Linked DNA regions of Homo sapiens: all the other regions are linked to region 3. The links are contacts of gene promoters, found by promoter capture Hi-C in blood cells and fetal thymus (Javierre and others, 2016). All regions are on one chromosome and are shown on one strand. Each heading gives the region's core, a stretch centred on a gene start or on the middle of the fragment in contact. The rest is flanking DNA. Distances are from core to core; before and after follow the strand shown.

The links. The method cuts DNA at HindIII sites, captures the fragments that hold promoters and counts their contacts. A CHiCAGO score of 5 or more calls a contact.
Region 1: a contact is called between a fragment that was not itself captured here and the fragment with the promoter of TM6SF1 in region 3, in 2 of 17 cell types (megakaryocytes and endothelial precursors). The highest score is 6.2, in megakaryocytes.
Region 2: a fragment that was not itself captured here is called in contact with the fragment with the promoter of TM6SF1 in region 3 in 2 of 17 cell types (endothelial precursors and megakaryocytes); the score reaches 6.3 in endothelial precursors.
Region 4: a fragment that was not itself captured here is called in contact with the fragment with the promoter of TM6SF1 in region 3 in 1 of 17 cell types (neutrophils); the score reaches 5.2 in neutrophils.

The regions. Positions count from the first base shown.
Region 1 is chr15:83,000,463-83,004,873 of GRCh38, forward strand. It overlaps C15orf40 (chromosome 15 open reading frame 40), which reads right to left. Exons shown (of 4, transcript NM_144597.3): 4 at 1-4,411. Among named protein-coding and RNA genes, the nearest start is that of C15orf40, 9.0 kb to the right of the region's middle. RefSeq lists a silencer at 1-249. The HindIII fragment of the contact is 1,872 bases long and covers 2,177-4,048 here.
Region 2 is chr15:83,198,484-83,202,756 of GRCh38, forward strand. The region is part of intron 1 of HDGFL3 (HDGF like 3); the gene reads right to left. Among named protein-coding and RNA genes, the nearest start is that of HDGFL3, 7.2 kb to the right of the region's middle. RefSeq lists an enhancer at 1,797-1,956. The HindIII fragment of the contact is 958 bases long and covers 2,056-3,013 here.
Region 3 is chr15:83,105,237-83,109,542 of GRCh38, forward strand. TM6SF1 (transmembrane 6 superfamily member 1) reads left to right here and starts at 2,409. Exons shown (of 10, transcript NM_023003.5): 1 at 2,409-2,536. The coding sequence starts at 2,445. RefSeq lists silencers at 2,037-2,316, 2,347-2,466. The HindIII fragment of the contact is 11,695 bases long and covers 1-4,306 here.
Region 4 is chr15:82,981,941-82,986,097 of GRCh38, forward strand. It overlaps a transcript of HOMER2 not described here. Among named protein-coding and RNA genes, the nearest start is that of RAMAC, 2.2 kb to the right of the region's middle. The HindIII fragment of the contact is 1,901 bases long and covers 1,206-3,106 here.

The DNA of each region.
Region 1 (4,411 bases), core at 1,863-4,362, 100 kb before region 3:
AAGCTTAAGGAATGGCTCTGAGAAAACGAGAAGGATCACAGCATGTGAGCCCGTAGTCAGGCACTGCAGACTACCTAATAGTGCTGTTCACTACAAAAGGAAACGAGTTTCAGTTTGTGTGGCTTTTTGCTGTTGTGTTATGGTGCCACCTCTTGGATGTAAATTGAAATTCTAAGTTTTTAGTCACTAGTTACATGCATTAAAACAATTTGAATTTGGGGCCATGTGGGTTCTAAAATTTATACTCTGCATTACAGCTAAAGAACTATGTAACCAAATCCCTGGAATCTAGGAGGGGGATGCTGACAGCCCACAGCCCAGAGAGCTGCCTCCTAAAGTTTGAGCATTTAGGTATTTGGAACTTTATTTTTCAAGATGGAATCTCTGTCGCCCAGGCTGGAATGCAGTGGCATGATCTTGGCTCACTGCAACCTCTGCCTCCTGGGTTCAAGCAATTCTCAGGCCTCAGCCTCCCAAGTAGCTGGGACTACAGGCATGCATTGCCATGCCCAGCGAATATTTGTATTTGTAGTAGAAACAGGGTTTCGCCATATTGGTCAGGCTGGTCTTAAACTCCTGACTTCAAGTGATCCACCCGCCTCAGCCTCCCAAAGTGCTGGGATTACAGGCATAAGCCACTGCACTGGCCTAGGTGTGCACTGCAAAGGTTCCACCTTCATCCTCTGGTTATTGCTGTCCCTCCCCTAACCGAGAGGAAAGTGTGGAATGGCTCACAGAAATCAGAAGTCTGAAATCTCTGCTCCTGCCTCCAGGGCATAATGAGCCAGGCTGTTCTTTCCCAGGATCTGTCGAAGTACAGCATAGGCAAACCACCTAGCAGTGTCTGTCAAGTAAGCAACCAAGTTAATAAGTGATTAATACATCATGTTTGCACAAGTAATTATCATTTATTAAGGTGCGGGTGATAGATGACAGATGCAGTGCTAGAACATCATATGTCGGCATAGTTGGATAAATATTTTTCAAACCTTATTCATAGGCTGCTTCAAATCCAGGATTCTCAGGACAGCACAGGACAAGAAAGACAGTGTAATCAAGTCACTATAGACTGCCTAGCCAGTACTCACTTGAAATTAATGGGAGTGAGCAAAGCTAGAACCATGTCATTAGACAAATGTTACGGAGGCTGAATATTTTGTGTCTTGGGCACTAGGTCACTGGGTCTACTTCAGTATTTACAGGGGAATACCAGGGCCCAGATGATGAAAAGTACATTAACTGAGCTTCTACAGCAGGTCAAGGTGCCCAAGCCTTAGCTGTGATCTCTTAACAGTAGGAATAGTCCTGTGTGAGACAATTAAGTTGTGAGGCTGCTGTAGACTATCTTGTTTGCAGTGGGGAAAAGGGAATCGTGTTCTGGGAATACAGCCCCTGGGCCAGTTCCTACCTCCAACAGTAGTTTGTTTTGTTTTGTTTGTTTCTGTTTTTTTGTTGTTGTTATTGAGACAGAGCCTTGCTCTGTCACCCAGGCTGGAGTGCAGTGGTGTGATCCCGGCTCACTGCAGCTTCTGATTCCCGGGTTCAAGCAATTCTCCTGCTTCAGCCTCCCAAGTAGCTGAGATTACAGTCATGTACCACCACGCCCAGCTAATTTTTGTAATTTTTAGTAGAGGTGGGGTTTCACCATGGTGGCCAGGCTGGTCTTGAACTCCTGACCTCAGGTGATCCACCCACCTTGGCCTCCCAAAGTGCTGGGATTACAGGTGTGAGCCACCATGCCCGGCCCCAAAGTAGTTTTTGATGACAGAGTGTCCCCATATCTTCTTTGTTACAAGATACTGCTACGTTTCTCAAAGAAAAAAACTCACTAGGCAAAATGTTCCCACGTTTAAAATATCACCGTTTAAAATGAAGTAAATAGGTTATCGTAGTAGAAACTGGTGGTTCCTCTCCAGCATCCATTCCTCTCTTTGTAACTTTTCCCAATTTTATTCAGGTATCCAACTCTCTCTACTTCTTTGCTTCTGAGTATGCTGACCCCATTTCCACCTCTAGGATGGGCCTTAATTGGCCTGAAACAATTAGGGTAATTCTTTCTTCTATAGTTACTGCTTTAGGGAACTTGTGTTATAGAATGGCATTCCCTGATCACAGGGGCTGGCTTAGAAATTTCATGTGACTTGATTTGGGCTGATACAAGGGAAGGCTGACTGAAAGCTTCTGGAAAATACCAGAGCTCCTAGGAGTGGCCTTTTCTCCTACTGCAGGGGTTGATACGTGAATATGAAACCTGGTTGGCCTTTTGTCTACATGAAACAAGTGGGCCTGAGGATGAAACTGGCACTGCAGAAGATTCAGGGGAAGGAAAGAAAGCTGATTTTTTTTTTTCTTGAGACGGAGTCTGCCTCTGCAGCCCACGCTGGAGCGCAGTTCGCAGTTGTGCGATCTTGGCTCACTGCAACCTCTGCCTCCAGGGTCCCGGTTCACAAGCAATTCTCCTGCCTCAGCCTCCCGAGTAGCTGGGATTACAAGCATCTGCCACTATGCCCAGGTAACTTTTGTATTTTTAGTAGAGACGGGGTTTCACCATGTTGGCCAGGGTGATCTTGAACTCCTGACCTCGTGATCTGCCTGCCTCGGCCTCCCAAAGCGCTGGAATTACAGGCGTAAGCCAACACGCCTGACCAAAAGTTGATCCTTTTTTTTTTTTTTTTTTTTTGAGATGGAGTTTCGCTCCTTTTGCCCAGGCTAGAGTGCAATGGCACGATCTCAGCTCACCGCAACCTCCAACTCCCGGGTTCAAGCGATTCTCCTACCTCAGCCTCCCGAGTAGCTGCAATTACAGGCATGTGCCACCACGCCCAGCTAATTTTTTGTATTTTTAGTAGAGATGGGGTTTCTCCATGTTGGTCAGGCTGGTCTCGAATTCCCGACCTCAGGTGATCCACCTGCCTTGGCCTCCCAAAGTGCTGGGATTACAGGTGTGAGCTACCATGCCCGGCCAGGAAAGTTGATCTTTTATGATATCATTTTATGACATTCTAACAGTGATCCATGTAAAATCCACAAGTAAAACGGCTTTACAGCACACATGGCAATGGTCTTGAGAAAGAGTGGGAAAAGCTCTTAAGACCATGTAAAACAGAAGCACATTTGCAGGCAGTATATGGCACAGTTTAGAAGACAAAGCAGCTGGGCTTAAACCAAGCTCTGCCATTAATGTGCACTGTGATCTCACATAAGCCACCTTTTCTTGCCCTTGATACCTATTTGGTACAAGTTAAGAGTTGTACTAGACGAGTAGCTTCTCTTTCACTGTCTGGGATTTTTTCTTTCTTTTTGAGACGGAGTCTCACTCTTGTCGCCGAGGCTGGAGTGCAGTGGCACCGTGTGGGCTCACTGCAACTTCCGTCTCCTGGGTTCAAGCAATTCTCCTGCCTCAGCCTCCCGAGTAGCTGAGATTACAGGCACCCACCACCATGCCTGGCTAGTTTTTATATTTTTAGTAGAGATGGGGTTTTACTATGTTGGCCGGGCTGGTCTCAAACTCCTAACCTCAGGTGATCCACCCGCCTCGACCTCCCAAAGTGCTGGGATTACAGGCATGAGCCACCACACCCGGCCTGGACTTCTTATATATGAGGTCTTATATATAATCTTACATATAAATATATATATCTATGTATAAAATCTATCTATGTATATCTATCTATCTATAAAGAAAGAGACAGAGACAGATACAGGGTCTCACTTCGTTGCCCAGGCTGGTCTCAAACTCCTGGGCTCAAGTGTTCCTCCTGCCTCAACCTTCCAAAGCGCTGGGATTACAGGCGTGAGCCACCAAGCCCAGCTACCATCAGCAATTTTTATTATTGTTCTTCCTTGTGGATTTTGTTTTTAATGATTTGGTCCATCAATACATCTTTCTCATGTACTTGCTGGACAAAGCGCACAACTGCAGATCAGCTCTCCTGATCAGCAAAGGAAATTAATTTTATTTTCTTTAATAAATTACTATAACTTGACCTGAAGATGTAAAAATATATTATTAGCTTTTGAAACTTTAATATAGATGTAATTTCTGACAAGCTTTTACAAATACTGAAAATAGCTTCCAAGTCCTCTTTCTTCTTTTAAGGATCTTTGGAGATTCATAAAAACTACTGAATTTGCTGATTATTTAAGTTATTAGAGGAAGATGAAAATTCAGTGACTTCTCAAAAATTATAATTCACATTTAATTACAAGTCATGATTTTTCTTTACTTTTTCAACAAAATGGTAAATATAGTCTTTAAAAGATGTAAAAAAAAAATTTTTTTTACATTTAAATAAGCATTTAAAAATCTAAGGTAAGACTACAAAGCAGCATAACAGGTTTTCTGTCACTTGTAAACTGGATTAGAAGGCAATCCCCAGAATTCCAGAACCGTTGTGGAGATATGATTTTT
Region 2 (4,273 bases), core at 1,285-3,784, 93 kb after region 3:
GTACAACTTGAAAATTTTTTTGTTATAGGTGCATCTTAGTCCATTTTGGGTTGCTGTAACAGAATAAATGAGGCTGGGTAATTTATAAAGAAAACAGGCTTTATTTAGCTCATGGTTCTGCAGGCTGGAAAGTATAAGCATGGTACCAGCATCTGCTCAGCTTCTGGTAAGGGCCACGTGCTAACTCAAAACATGGCAAAGAAGGTCAAAGGGAAAGTGGACACGTGAAAAGCAACCAAACAGGAGGAAGAAACTTGCTTTATAACTCACTCTTGCAAGAACTAATCTATTCTCAGAGAACTAATCTAGTCTCCAGAGAGGGAGAACTCACTACCACAGGACCAGCAACAGTACCCAAACACCTCTCGCTAGAACCCACCTCCCAACACCACCACACTGGGGATAAAATTTCAACATGAGTTTTGGAGGGGACAAACGGATCATATAAAAATCTCAGCAGTGTGTGTGTGCATGCATGTGCACGTACTGGGATGGGAATTAATATTTATTTCTCACTGTAGGTTACAGTCAAAAAACCTGAAAGCCGTTAGACTGCAATCAATCAGCAACAACAACTCATTTCCAAAGTCTAAATATTTTTTTCAAAATTATTGACTTCATCATCATGTAGTAGTCCAGGGAAGGAGATAAGAGAAGTTATAACTTGTTTTAAATTAGTTGGTTTCATTTGGAACATCAAATAGTGGTCTAGAGGGAATTTTCAATCCATTCAACATATGGTAACTCTAAAAGCATTAACTGAGAATTTATACTACTACTCCCTCTGAACAAGCATTTCCTCCAAGATCAAACATGTTATTAATAATAAAGTACTACTTCAGTGTCAAAGGAAAAGGAAATAGAGATCTGAAGTTGAGTTTATTTTCTGACCTGTCTACATCATAAAAAATCCTTAATCTTCTGTGAAACTCATTTTTATATGTGCTAACCACTACTGAAACTATCACTTAAAACCACTCTCATCTCGTATTTTGCAATAGAAACTGAGAAGTTATTACTATGTGATCAGAAATTTTCCAGTCCCCATACAGGCAACCTGGCAGCTACCACTGACTCCCCTACACTGACACCTCTACTTCTGGGTAGCTGTATAGACTCTATATTCAGACTTAGAGAATCTATTCAGAATATGAGTTTCAATGATCAAATGAGAAGAATAGTTTATTCTTAGACCCTTTTTGTATGTTAATGTGGTCCAGTTTATCTTGTCCCCAAATCCTGAAGCTCTGTGGAACTTCCAGAAATGGCCTATCACAAGCCAGGTGCAGGGGCTCACACCTGTAATCCCAGCACTTTGGGAGGCCGAGGCGGGTGGATCACGAGGTCAGGAGTTCAAGATCAGCCTGGCCTAGATAGTAAAACCCAGTCTCTACTAAAAATACAAAAAAAAAATTAGCCGGGCATGGTGGTGGGCACCTGTAATCTCAGCTACTCAGGAGACTGAGGCAGAGAATTGCTTAAACTCAGGAGGCAGAGGATGCAGTGAGCCGAGATCGCCCCACTGCACTCCAGCCTGGGCGACAAAGCGAAACTCCATCTCAAAAAAAAAAAAAAAAAGGCCAGGTGTGGTGGCTTACACCTGTAATCCCAGCACTTTGAGAGGCCGAGGCAGGCAGATCACGAGGTCAGGAGATTGAGACCATCCTGGCTAACACAGTGAAACCCCATCTCTACTAAAAAAATACAAAAAAATCAGCCCAGCGTGGTGGTGGGCACCTGTAGTCCTAGCTACTCGGGAGGCTGAGGCAGGAACCCGGGAGGCGGAGCTTGCAGTGAGCGGAGATCCCGCCACTGCACTCCAGCCTTCATGACAGAGCAAGACTCCATCTCAAAAAAAAAAAAGAAAGAAAAAAAAGAAATGGCCTATCACACTCAGAAATCAAGATGGGTAACAATGGGAAGTCCCCAAATTCCCAGAGTCTAGAGCCAACTCACTATTATAAAGCCACAAAGCAGCTGCTGAAAAACATACCTTCCAAACCACAGAAGCATTTACTGAGACTTTACTACGTTCCCTGCATTGTATAAGTAAGAAGCTTTGTGTTCTTGGGAGATAATTATTTAGTAACTTAATTGGAACTTAATTAGCAAATAGTTCTTTCATATACATTTTAACATTTGATCCTTAGGAAAAAGAAGGGAAAGAGTAAGAATTATCATCCATCCTATTTTACAAAGAGGTTCACAATAAAAAAGATGCCCAGCCTAACAAACCAAGATAGTAGTGGAATGAAGTACTTGTCTTTTAACCCCTGGTCTGATTCTCTTTCTCTTCATTGCAGGACTTCCTCAGAAATCTGGAGGATGTCATTCTGAAGGCTTGTGCTCACCAATCATTAGATTACTTTATTCTTTTTTTTTTTTTTTTTTTCACTTCTGTGTGGCTCTCTGTGACCATACAGATGGTTATTTACCAGACTAAATGTGGTAAATTCTTATCTAGGTAAAAAGAAGACAGAAAAAAATAATTTATAATCTCTATCCTCTATTTCAATGAGGGTACTTTTATGCAGGAGAAATTAATATTTGTAACATGAAGGTCAACCCATTCCCCCTTTTACATAGTTGCCAATAGTTTAAATACACCATATGAGCAAATTATTTTACGTATTAGGACCACTATTGACCTTTAAAGATCCTTCATAGTCAGTACTTCTACTCTACCTAGAGTGAATGACTAGTTTTTTTTTTTAAAGTTCTAATGAGTTGCAAACAGACATGTTTATAAAATAAAAATAAATTATGAGAAAAATAAAGACATACAAAATGTAAGCCTCAATTATTAGATTCACAAAGCTACTCCATCAAACGGCTCTAAAAATTTCTAAACTCTTATTTCAATTTCTGTACCTATTTTGTCACTGACAAGTAACATTCACAGGACATGCTTTCAGTAGCACTGCAAGTGATTAGAACACCTTTTTGTAGTGGATGAATAACTACATCAAGTGGGATGGATTCTGATCTAACATCTGAGACTTTTGAAACAGAAAGCTTTCTCCAATAAATAAATATATTCGGGCTAGTCTCCTACTATATTTATTATACTTACAAGCCTATAATACTTTTCTAATGCAAACAGGCTTTTCAATGAAGTTGTACATAATTTTAAACCATCAGTCATTTCCCAAAAGAATCAAATACAATCTCTAATAGTAGAAAACTGACTTCCGAGAATTAATATTATTTTCCAAATCATGGAGGAACAGTAGTCATTAGAGAATTCCAAAGGGGATGTGCCAGGAATAGAGACTCATCTGGTTGAAACGGGAGCATCGGAAAATGAACATATTGGTATCAAAAGTTTAAAGTTCCTATGAGCTCCCAGATTAAGTGGGAGAAAATGAGACAATTTGCCAAATCCTTGGCAAAGTGAAAGTAGTCCCTGGGAAAAAGACTGAGTGAGCTTGTGCCAGGACTGAACAACTGATGTACTTCTTAGGCCAAAGTAATGAAGATTATAAACACCTTACTTTATGTTGAGATTAAAAAGAACTTAAGTCCCAAATGATTCTCTGAAAATAATGTGGCCTGGTCTCCAGAAATAAATTTATCACCTTCTTAGTAGATCATTGTCAAATGCAAAAAACCTGAAAGTGCTATGGATCAGAAAAGGAAGATTCCCAACAAATATTTATATTAATAAAGGGTATGGAAACACTTCATAATCATGTTTTAGAATTGCTGCAAATTTAATCTATTGCTAGAGATATGAAAAAACTATACCCCTGTGCCTTACATACAGTAGGTGCTCAACAAAAGTTCAGTAAGAGCTCAGCTCTTGAAGCTATATAAATAGGAAGGTCAAATGCTTTATTCTTATGCTTTACAAAGTGAGAGGTTAAAGAAAGCTAGATCAAAAATATGATAAGCAGTGATTTAATATTAAAGGAAGAGAAAGACACTGATGCAGGTAAACAAACCAGACAGGCTGAAACCAGAACTCAAAGAAAGTCTAAAGAGAATGCTCTAAAGTAGAAAATGAAGTTTCTATAATAAGTCAAAAGGGAATAGGAAGATGCAGCTTGGTAGGAGTGAGGACTCGAAGGAAAAAAAACAACTCACTGAAAGCTAAAAATAGTGAAATTTAATCCATGTAGAAGTATTAGTTCTCCTTTCTCCCTAACTCATATAAAATGTGTTTTTTAAATTGAGGTATAACTTTCATACAGTATAGTGCACAAATCTTAAATGTACAGCTTGATACATTTTTACATATGTACACATCCATGTAACACCATCCAGATCAAGA
Region 3 (4,306 bases), core at 1,159-3,658:
CCCGTCTCTACTAAAAATACAAAAAATTAGCCGGGCGTAGTGGCGGGCGCCTGTAGTCCCAGCTACTTGGGAGGCTGAGGCAGGAGAATGGCGTGAACCCGGGAGGCGGAGCTTGCAGTGAGCCGAGATCCCGCCACTGCACTCCAGCCTGGGTGACAGAGCGAGACTCCATCTCAAAAAAAAAAAAAAAAAAAAAAAAAAAAAAAAAAAAAAAAGAGAAACTGTTGTCAACAAAAAAATCATGTAATTCCCAATATGTATATCACAATACCTTGAAACTTTGCCATGTCACTTGGGTCCCTTGTGGGCTCTGAGGGAGCAGCTCTGAGACTGATGCAACAAGGTTGGGTGTTGATGGAAGGGATGGGCTGGCTTGGGAGCCTGGCTGGGAGCTCAGAGGTATAGGAGGAAGTGTCTCTTGTCAGGGAGGAAGTAGGAGTTTAAGGAGAGTGGTGAAGGTTAGGGGTGGAAGAGGGTGATGTGCAGGTGACAGGTGAGGACACCTCTTGGAGAAACTTTGGATATGTCACAGTGTGGGCCAAGGCTTAAACGTTATGCACTCAGAGCTGGAGAAGCCTTCAAGAAGAACTAGGATGAAGGATTAGGAGAACTGGCATTTGAAAAGTGGAGTGGCCCTGGAGCAGGCCATACCTCCTCGTAGCTCATTTTCCTCATGTCTAAAATGAGCCAAATGGTCTTTTAGAGGCTAGGTGCGGTGGCTCACACCTGTAATCCCAGCACTTTGGGAGGCCGAGGAGGGAGGATCACTTGAGCCCAGGAGTTTGAGACCAGCTTGGGCAACATAGTGAGACCCTGCCTCTACAAAGAAGTGGTGCGAGACTGTAGTCCCAGGAGCTAAGGAGGCTAAGCTGGGAGGATGGCTTGGCGTGGGAAAGTGGGGACTGCAGTGAGCCCTCATCTCTCCACTGCCTCTAGCCTGGTTTGCAGAGTGAGACCCTGTCTTAAAAAAATAAAAATAAAAATAGGCTGGGCGCGGTGGCTCACGCCTGTAATCCCAGCACTTTGGGAGGCCGAGGCGGGCGGATCACGAGGTCAGGAGATCAAGACCACGGTGAAACCCCGTCTCTACTAAAAATACAAAAAATTAGCCCGGCGCGGTGGCGGGCACCTGTAGTCCCAGCTACTCTGGAGGCTGAGGCAGAATGGCGTGAACCCCGGGAGGTGGAGCTTGCAGTGAGCCAAGATTGCACCACTGCACTCCAGCCTGGGTGACAGAGCGAGACTCTGTCTCAAAAAAAAAAAAAAATAAAAATAATAAATAAATAAATAAATAAATAAATAAAATAAACCCCTCAAATGGCAACAGCAAAAACACATAAATGGTCTCTTAAATTCCCTGGAAGTTGTAAAGACAGTAAGTACATGCCGGTACCTCCCTCAGTTGCTTGAGCTGTTCTCCTGGAACTCACTGCCCTTCAGATAGCCACAACACTTGACACACAATATTTTCCATACCCGTAGGCATCTATCATTCAGAGGAAGAGGCTTATCTTCCAGTCTTTGTACCCTGCAGGGCCCAATGCAGGCTGGCTGGTGGGCACCTGGCCTCCAGGAATGCTTCCTGGAATAGCAATGAATGGCGCTCTAGTCTCTTAGAGTCTCAGCATTTATGTCCATTTCAATTAAAGAAAAAAAAAAAAAAAGAATCGCAGGAGGTGGTGTAGTGAGCAGCACAGGATAACGCGCTTCGTAGGTATGAACTCAGTTAACCCCACAGTCACACTATGAAGTGTGTTATCCCCATTTCCCAGATAAGGGAAAAGACAGAGAGGTTAAGTAATTTGACCAAAGTCAACAGCTGGTGACTGGAGAGCCAGGTTTAAAAACCGGATGCCGGCTCCGTGCAGCAGCCCGCCGATGGCTACTGGAGCGGAGAGGTTCCGAGGTTTCAGGGGCATTTTGTCCTTTCCCACTTCTGGGCCGTGGGCTCCCCCATAGACGATCCCGCGGGCCCTTCCTCCTCTGACACCCTCGGATCTGGTTCCACCTTTCCCGGACCGCAGCTCAGCCCCGCGCCTCTCCAGCTCTTCGATGACCGGTTCCCGGCCGTGCCCCGGGCCCTCCCTCGGAGCGCGCGCCGCCAGGGGCACCTGTCCCTGCGCGGGGGTGTCGCCGCCCCTCGGCGCCGCCGGGCGCTTGCCGCTGAGCCGTGGCGCCCCTGGCAGGAGCACTGCAAGGACGCCTCCCGGGACTGCACCGCGGCCCTGCGCACTTGGGGCGACGGGGCCAGGCGCGGGGGACGGCTGCGGGCTGGGAGGGCGCGCGGAGGAGACACCGCTGAGGGGACGCCGCTGAGGGCGCCACGCGGGGGGCGCGGCTGAGGCGCCTCGAAGGGCAAGCGCCAAGGGGGCGCGGGCGCCGCCGGAAGCTGGGGCGGGGCGCCCAGCGGGATGCGGTGAAGGGCGAGCGGCGCGGCGGCTGCGATGAGTGCCTCTGCGGCCACCGGGGTCTTCGTGCTGTCCCTCTCGGCCATCCCGGTCACCTATGTCTTCAACCACCTGGCGGCCCAGCATGAGTGAGTGAGCCGGCGCGGCGGGGGTCGCGCCGAGGGGCGGCGGGAGTTGGCTCGCCGCGACGGGAGCCTCGCAACTTTTCCGAGGGGGCTGGGACCGTCCGCCGCGGGACAGAGGTTCGTGGCCGCAGGGGCTCCCCGCGCCTGGCCAGACTAGGGGGGCGCCCCAGGGGTCGCACGGGCCGGGTCTTGGAGCCGGGCCCTGAGGTGCCCAGGCTGGCGCATTTCGGGATGTTGGTGCCAGCACCGCGCCAGGTGCCCGGGGTCACAGGCGTCAATACGGCCATGCCCCTGCCCTGGAGGGGCCCAGGGGCCGGTGGGGAGCGGAACAAACACGGACACTACGAACCTGGCCGTGTCAGCTCGTTTGTGCCTTGTTCTTTTTGCATCTCACGGGAACGTTTCCATGTATGGACTTTCGCATACTTATCATTTCTTATTAATTTTAGAAACTGTTGTGAATGACTAGCAGAAATAGCCCGGAACCAACAGGCAGAGACGTGGGTTCTAGGCCTGGCTTTGGCACTGACGGTGTCTGGCCTGACGGTGTTTGGCACTGACGGTGTGGTCTGGCCTCGGTTTTCCGGTCAAGTGGACTTTGTGTGCGTCCTATTGTAAGGTTCCACCGAGACCTCTTTGTGAAGGGGCGTTGTGAATGGAGAAGTGCTTCCCAGTGCCTGCGCTGGGGTAGGATGGGGACAGGCAGCAGAGGCAGAACACTTCAATGTGAAGGAAATGGGTGGGGCTGATGGAGGGGGACAGGGCTTGGGTTCGAAGCCCTGCCTCCCACTCCACTGCAGGGATCACGGACTAACCTGCAGCCGGCAGCTGAAGGCCTGAGGGTCGCCGGGTGTTGGGACAGGCGCCAGCCTCTGTTCCTGCTGATGTTGGTTGCTGTCTGGAGGGAGGAGGAAGTAACCTGCTATGTCTCTCAGCTGTTGGTGCTAAGGAAATTGCATCAGTCTGTAGGCTGCAAACCCCCTTCAGCTGGTCAGGCCGTGGAGTGTCTGTACATAGGGTGGTAACTTCCTCCTCTCCAGCTGCCTGGCCGCCTGATACAGGCAGCACCCACACTGAGTGCTCACCAGGCACCAGCAGTGTCTACCCTTGGTCTGGCCCAGTCTCTGGAGGCATCCCCTGGAGGCAGCTGCTCTGGGCCACCGAATATTACATGCCTGTCAATATAGTGCATGGGGGACCCTGTGCTCCAAAAAATGGCATTACGGGTAGTTCAGTGAAGATATACTGAGTGCCTACTGTGTGTTTGGCACTGTTCCAAGTGTTGGTGACATAGCTATGAACAAGCCAGAAGAGGCTGTGGAGGCAGGTAATGAGATAGACATCAACAAACATTAATACATCGATAGTGACATGCTATGAAGATAATAAAATAGGGTGACTGGGGAGGGGGCTGGTGGCCAGGGAAGGCTTCTAGGAGGAGGTAACACTTGAGCTATGGGAAGATCTGGGAATGGAGCCTGTCGGGCAGGAAAATGGAGCAGTGCAGGGGAAGGAATTGGATGGGCGTAGTAGGTATTTTGGAAGGTGAACAGATGGGGCTTACTGAAGAGGGTTGCATGGCAGCAGAGGATTTGAGGATGAGCCCTAGGTTTTGGCCTCAGCCACTGGGAAGATGGTGATGGCATTTACTGAATACAGACTGAACTATGTATTGCTGTGCATGATGGAGCGCACTGGCAAGCACTACAGCATTTTGAATAATTAGTGTCAGCCATTCTTCCTGTCCTCTTGCAGGTTAAAACCCCCGTGGCC
Region 4 (4,157 bases), core at 906-3,405, 120 kb before region 3:
CAATGTGAATGTACTTACTGTCAATGACCTGTGCACTTACAAATGGTTAAAATGGTAATTTTTATGTTACATATATTTTACCACAATTTAAAAAATATATCTGCTTAAGTAAAACAAAATGTCTACAATGAGTAGAAAAAAACACTATAAATTTCATGATGTAACCTTTCTCATGCACATCAACAGGCCCAAGGATATTACTATCCAGAAGAATATAACTGATGCTTTAACAGGGACTTTTAGTTGCCAGCAAAGATTAAATTATGGCCCATATATTCTGGTTATACCAGATAGGTAAGAGCCACATTTTGCAAACATTTCCATCAAAAATGGTTTCAATAAAAAATTTCTGATGCTTAAAGTCTAAGTGTCAGTTATCTAGAAAATTCCCCTTCATGAAACAGATTTCCTGTTGTCAGAAAATGAGACATAATAATCGATAACATATCAGAGAATGAAAAGACATTGGTGGGCAGAAAAAAATTTCATTTGAAAATTTGAAAATCTGCTGGAATACCTAGAGTTCTTCACAGAAACTCTCAGAGGCCTAGAGGCCCCTAAGTGTCACACACAAATTTACAGGAAAGAAAATACCAGTTGAGTATCCCTACTATGAAAATCTGAAATCCAAAATGCTCCAATGAGCATTTCCTTTGAGTGTCATGTTGGCACTCAAAAAGTTTTGGATTTGGGGACATTTTGTATTTTGTATTTGGGGATTAGGGATGCCCAATCTCTATATTCTTTTCTGGGTAAGTCCTCAATACTTACAAATAATGTCAATAATAGTCACAAGGAAACAACCAAACTAGCCTACAAGAAGCCCCTTTTCCAAATATCCTTCTTGATTCCCGATACTAGGTGAGGAAGCATTTTTCTTAGTTTTTCAATTGTCACACTGCCCCTCTTCAAGTTTTCTATTTCCTGTTCTTGTCTCCTAAATATGGGTATTTCCTGAGGGATAGGCCTTGGTCGCCTTCTCTTCTCTATGAATACTTTCCCTGTTGAAAAGATCATATACAGCTGCTCCTTGATTTTTGACGGGGTTATGTCCAGATAAACCCATCACAAGTTGAAAACATCATTAAGTCAAAAATGCAGTTAGTACACCTAATCTACCAAACATCATAGCTTAGCTTAGCCTACCTTAAACATGCTCAGAACACTTACATTAGCCTATAGTTGGGCAAGCTCATTTAACACAAAGCTTATTTTATAATAAAATGTTGAATATCTCATATAATTTATTGACTACTGTACGGAAAGTGAAAAACAGAATGTTTGTATAGGTATTCAAAGTACCCTGCCACTGAATGCACATGGTACCATTGTAAAGTACAACAATCGTTAAGTCAAACAGTCCTGTCGGGGAGCAACTGTACACCAGTGATTTCAACTATTGTTTCTTCATGAATTACTCACACATTTACATATCTGGGTAGAGCCTCTCTTTCCTGAGATTTAGTCTTGTATTTCTAACAACTCCCTGGAAATTTTCTCTTGAATATTTCACCAGTGTTTCAAATTTTACAAATGTATTTGGGCTCTGAGTTCATTTTTCCCTTAAAGCCACTTTACCTTATGGATATTCCTTTTCAGCCCCAATTTCCCAGGCTTAAAGAATTGGAGCCTTTCCTGATTTCTTTCTTTTCTTTCTTTTTTTTTTTAGATGGAGTCTCACTCTGTCGCCCAGGCTGGAGGGCAGTGGTGCAATCTCGGCTCACTGCAACCTCTGCCTCCCAAGTTCAAGCAATCCTCCCTGCCTCAGCTTCCCGAGTAGCTGGGATTACAGGCGCCCCTGACCACGCCCGGCTAATTTTTTTGATTTTTTAGTAGAGACAGGATTTCACCATGTTGGTCAGGCTGGTCTTGAACTCCTGACCTCAAGTGATCCGCCTGCCTCGGCCTCTCAAAGTGCAGGGATTACAGGAGTAAGCCACCGCACCCAGCTCCTTCCCTGATTTCTACCAATCTTTTTCTCTCGTAATCCACTCAGTAACTAAGTATAGTACTATTTACTATTTAGCGCACTATAGCGCGCTAACCAATTGCACTACTGGAGCTCCAGAATAGTACTATTCAATTATTATTATTATTTTTTTTTTTTTTTGAGACGGAGTCTTGCTCTGTCACCCAGGCTGGAGTGCAGTGGCGCAATCTCTGCTCACTGCAAGCTCCGCCTCCTGGGTTCACGCCATTCTCCTGCCTCAGCCTCCCGAGTAGCTAGGACTACAGGCGCCGGCCACCACGCCCAGCTAATTTTATGTATACTTAGTAGAGACAGGGTTTCACCGTGTTAGCCAGGATGGTCTTGATCTCCTGACCTCATGATCCACCCGCCTCGACCTCCCAAAGTGCTGGGATTACAGGCGTGAGCCACCGCACCCGGCCTTTTATTCAATTATTGTAACCTTGGTTGTTACACCTCTTACCTTTACTACCCAACACCAAGACTATCCTATTCCCTCATCCATACTATCCTATATACTTTTGCTAGGTTAATGTTTCTAAAACATTACTTGGAATATTCATAGTTCTATCATTCATTCCACAAACATTTATTCAGTGCTAACGTCATGGAAAAAGCACAATGTGGGGCTGGGCTCCACGGCTCAGGCCTGTAATCCCAGCCCTTTGGGAGGCTGAGGTGGGTGGACTGCTTGAGCCCAGAGTTCGAGACCAGACTGGGCAATACTGCAAAATTCCATCTCTACAAAAAATACAAAAAATTAGCAGGGTGGTGGTGTGCACCTGTAGTCCCAGCTCTCCGGAGGCTGAGCTGAGAGGATCGCCTGAGCCCAGGAAGTCGAGGCTGCAGTATGCCATGACCACGTCACTGCACTCCAGCCTGGGCAACAGAATGAGACCCTGTGTCAAAGAAACAAACAAACAAACAAACAAAAAAAGCACAATGTTATACACTCCAGAATGTAGAAATGCATTAGATAAAGGCCTGTTTACAGTTTAATAGGGGGAAAGACTTGCAAGTAAATAATTTTAGTTCGAAGTTAGAAAGTGGTAATAACTAAATACATGAAATTCCAGAAATATGATGGACTCTCAATAGAAAGAAAAATTATTTCTAGGTAGAGATGTCACTTTCTAAAGCTTTAAATAATGGAAAGAATTTCAACATTTGGAGATGAGGGGGAGAGACAGGTATTTCATGCAAGGGACATGAGCAATCTATAAAAATGTAATAATTTATGCATGACGTACTTCACAGGGTCTGGTTTACCACTGACTGAGGGAGAATGGAAGGGGAACAGCAGAAAATAAAAAAAGTTTTGAATCCAAGTTAATAAACTTGACCTTTAATCTACAGGCAACAGAGAGCCATTGGATCAGCTATTTTGGATCACGGTGGTGCTTGAAGATGGCTACACCTATAGCAGGTATATGTAAGATAGGCTAGTAGCAGAGTGATGCTAGAGGCAGGACATCAATGAGAAAGGTACTGCACTGACACCGTGCAGGGGATGGTAATGAGAACGTTGATTAGGTGGGGGCAGTGGGTAAGAAGATGCAAGAATTACTGTAGGGGTACAATCGACAGGACTTGGCAAGTGATTGGAGCATGGAAAGGCAAGAAAGGGCATCAAATCTGACATCAAAGTTTCCAAGTTGGTTGTATTAACAAAAACGGGTGCATAGCCTGGGAAGTAATTTGGGAGGGAAGAGGCCAAGCTTTGTCGGGATATTAAGTGTTTATACATTTGCTGAACATCCCACAAGACATGGGCAAGACTCTTGGAAGTAGCTGGATACTGACGACTGAAGCTGGAGCAGAGAGGGGGTATGTTTCTGCAAAACCACATACAAAACGGACTACGGAAATCTTACTACCGAGGCTTGCCCAGGCAGGAGAGAAAGGTGTAGCATCCCTGAAGTCATCAGTCGTGTCTACTCTTCACCGCCTGCTCTCACCTCACGTTCCCCACGAAGACTCCGGGAGCAGGCGGCCGGAAGGAGCCCTTCCCTCCCTTCTCCGGTGATTCCCAGAACTTCCGTCTCTACCCGTCACCTGCTCCCAATCAAAGGAGCTTAATAGACGGCGACGTTTTCGACTGCCCAGCCACCAGGCAGGCTGAAAGTGCATGGAGGGCATCATCCACCTTTAGACAGCTACTTGCCCACACCTCATCGAGCTCTGGGCG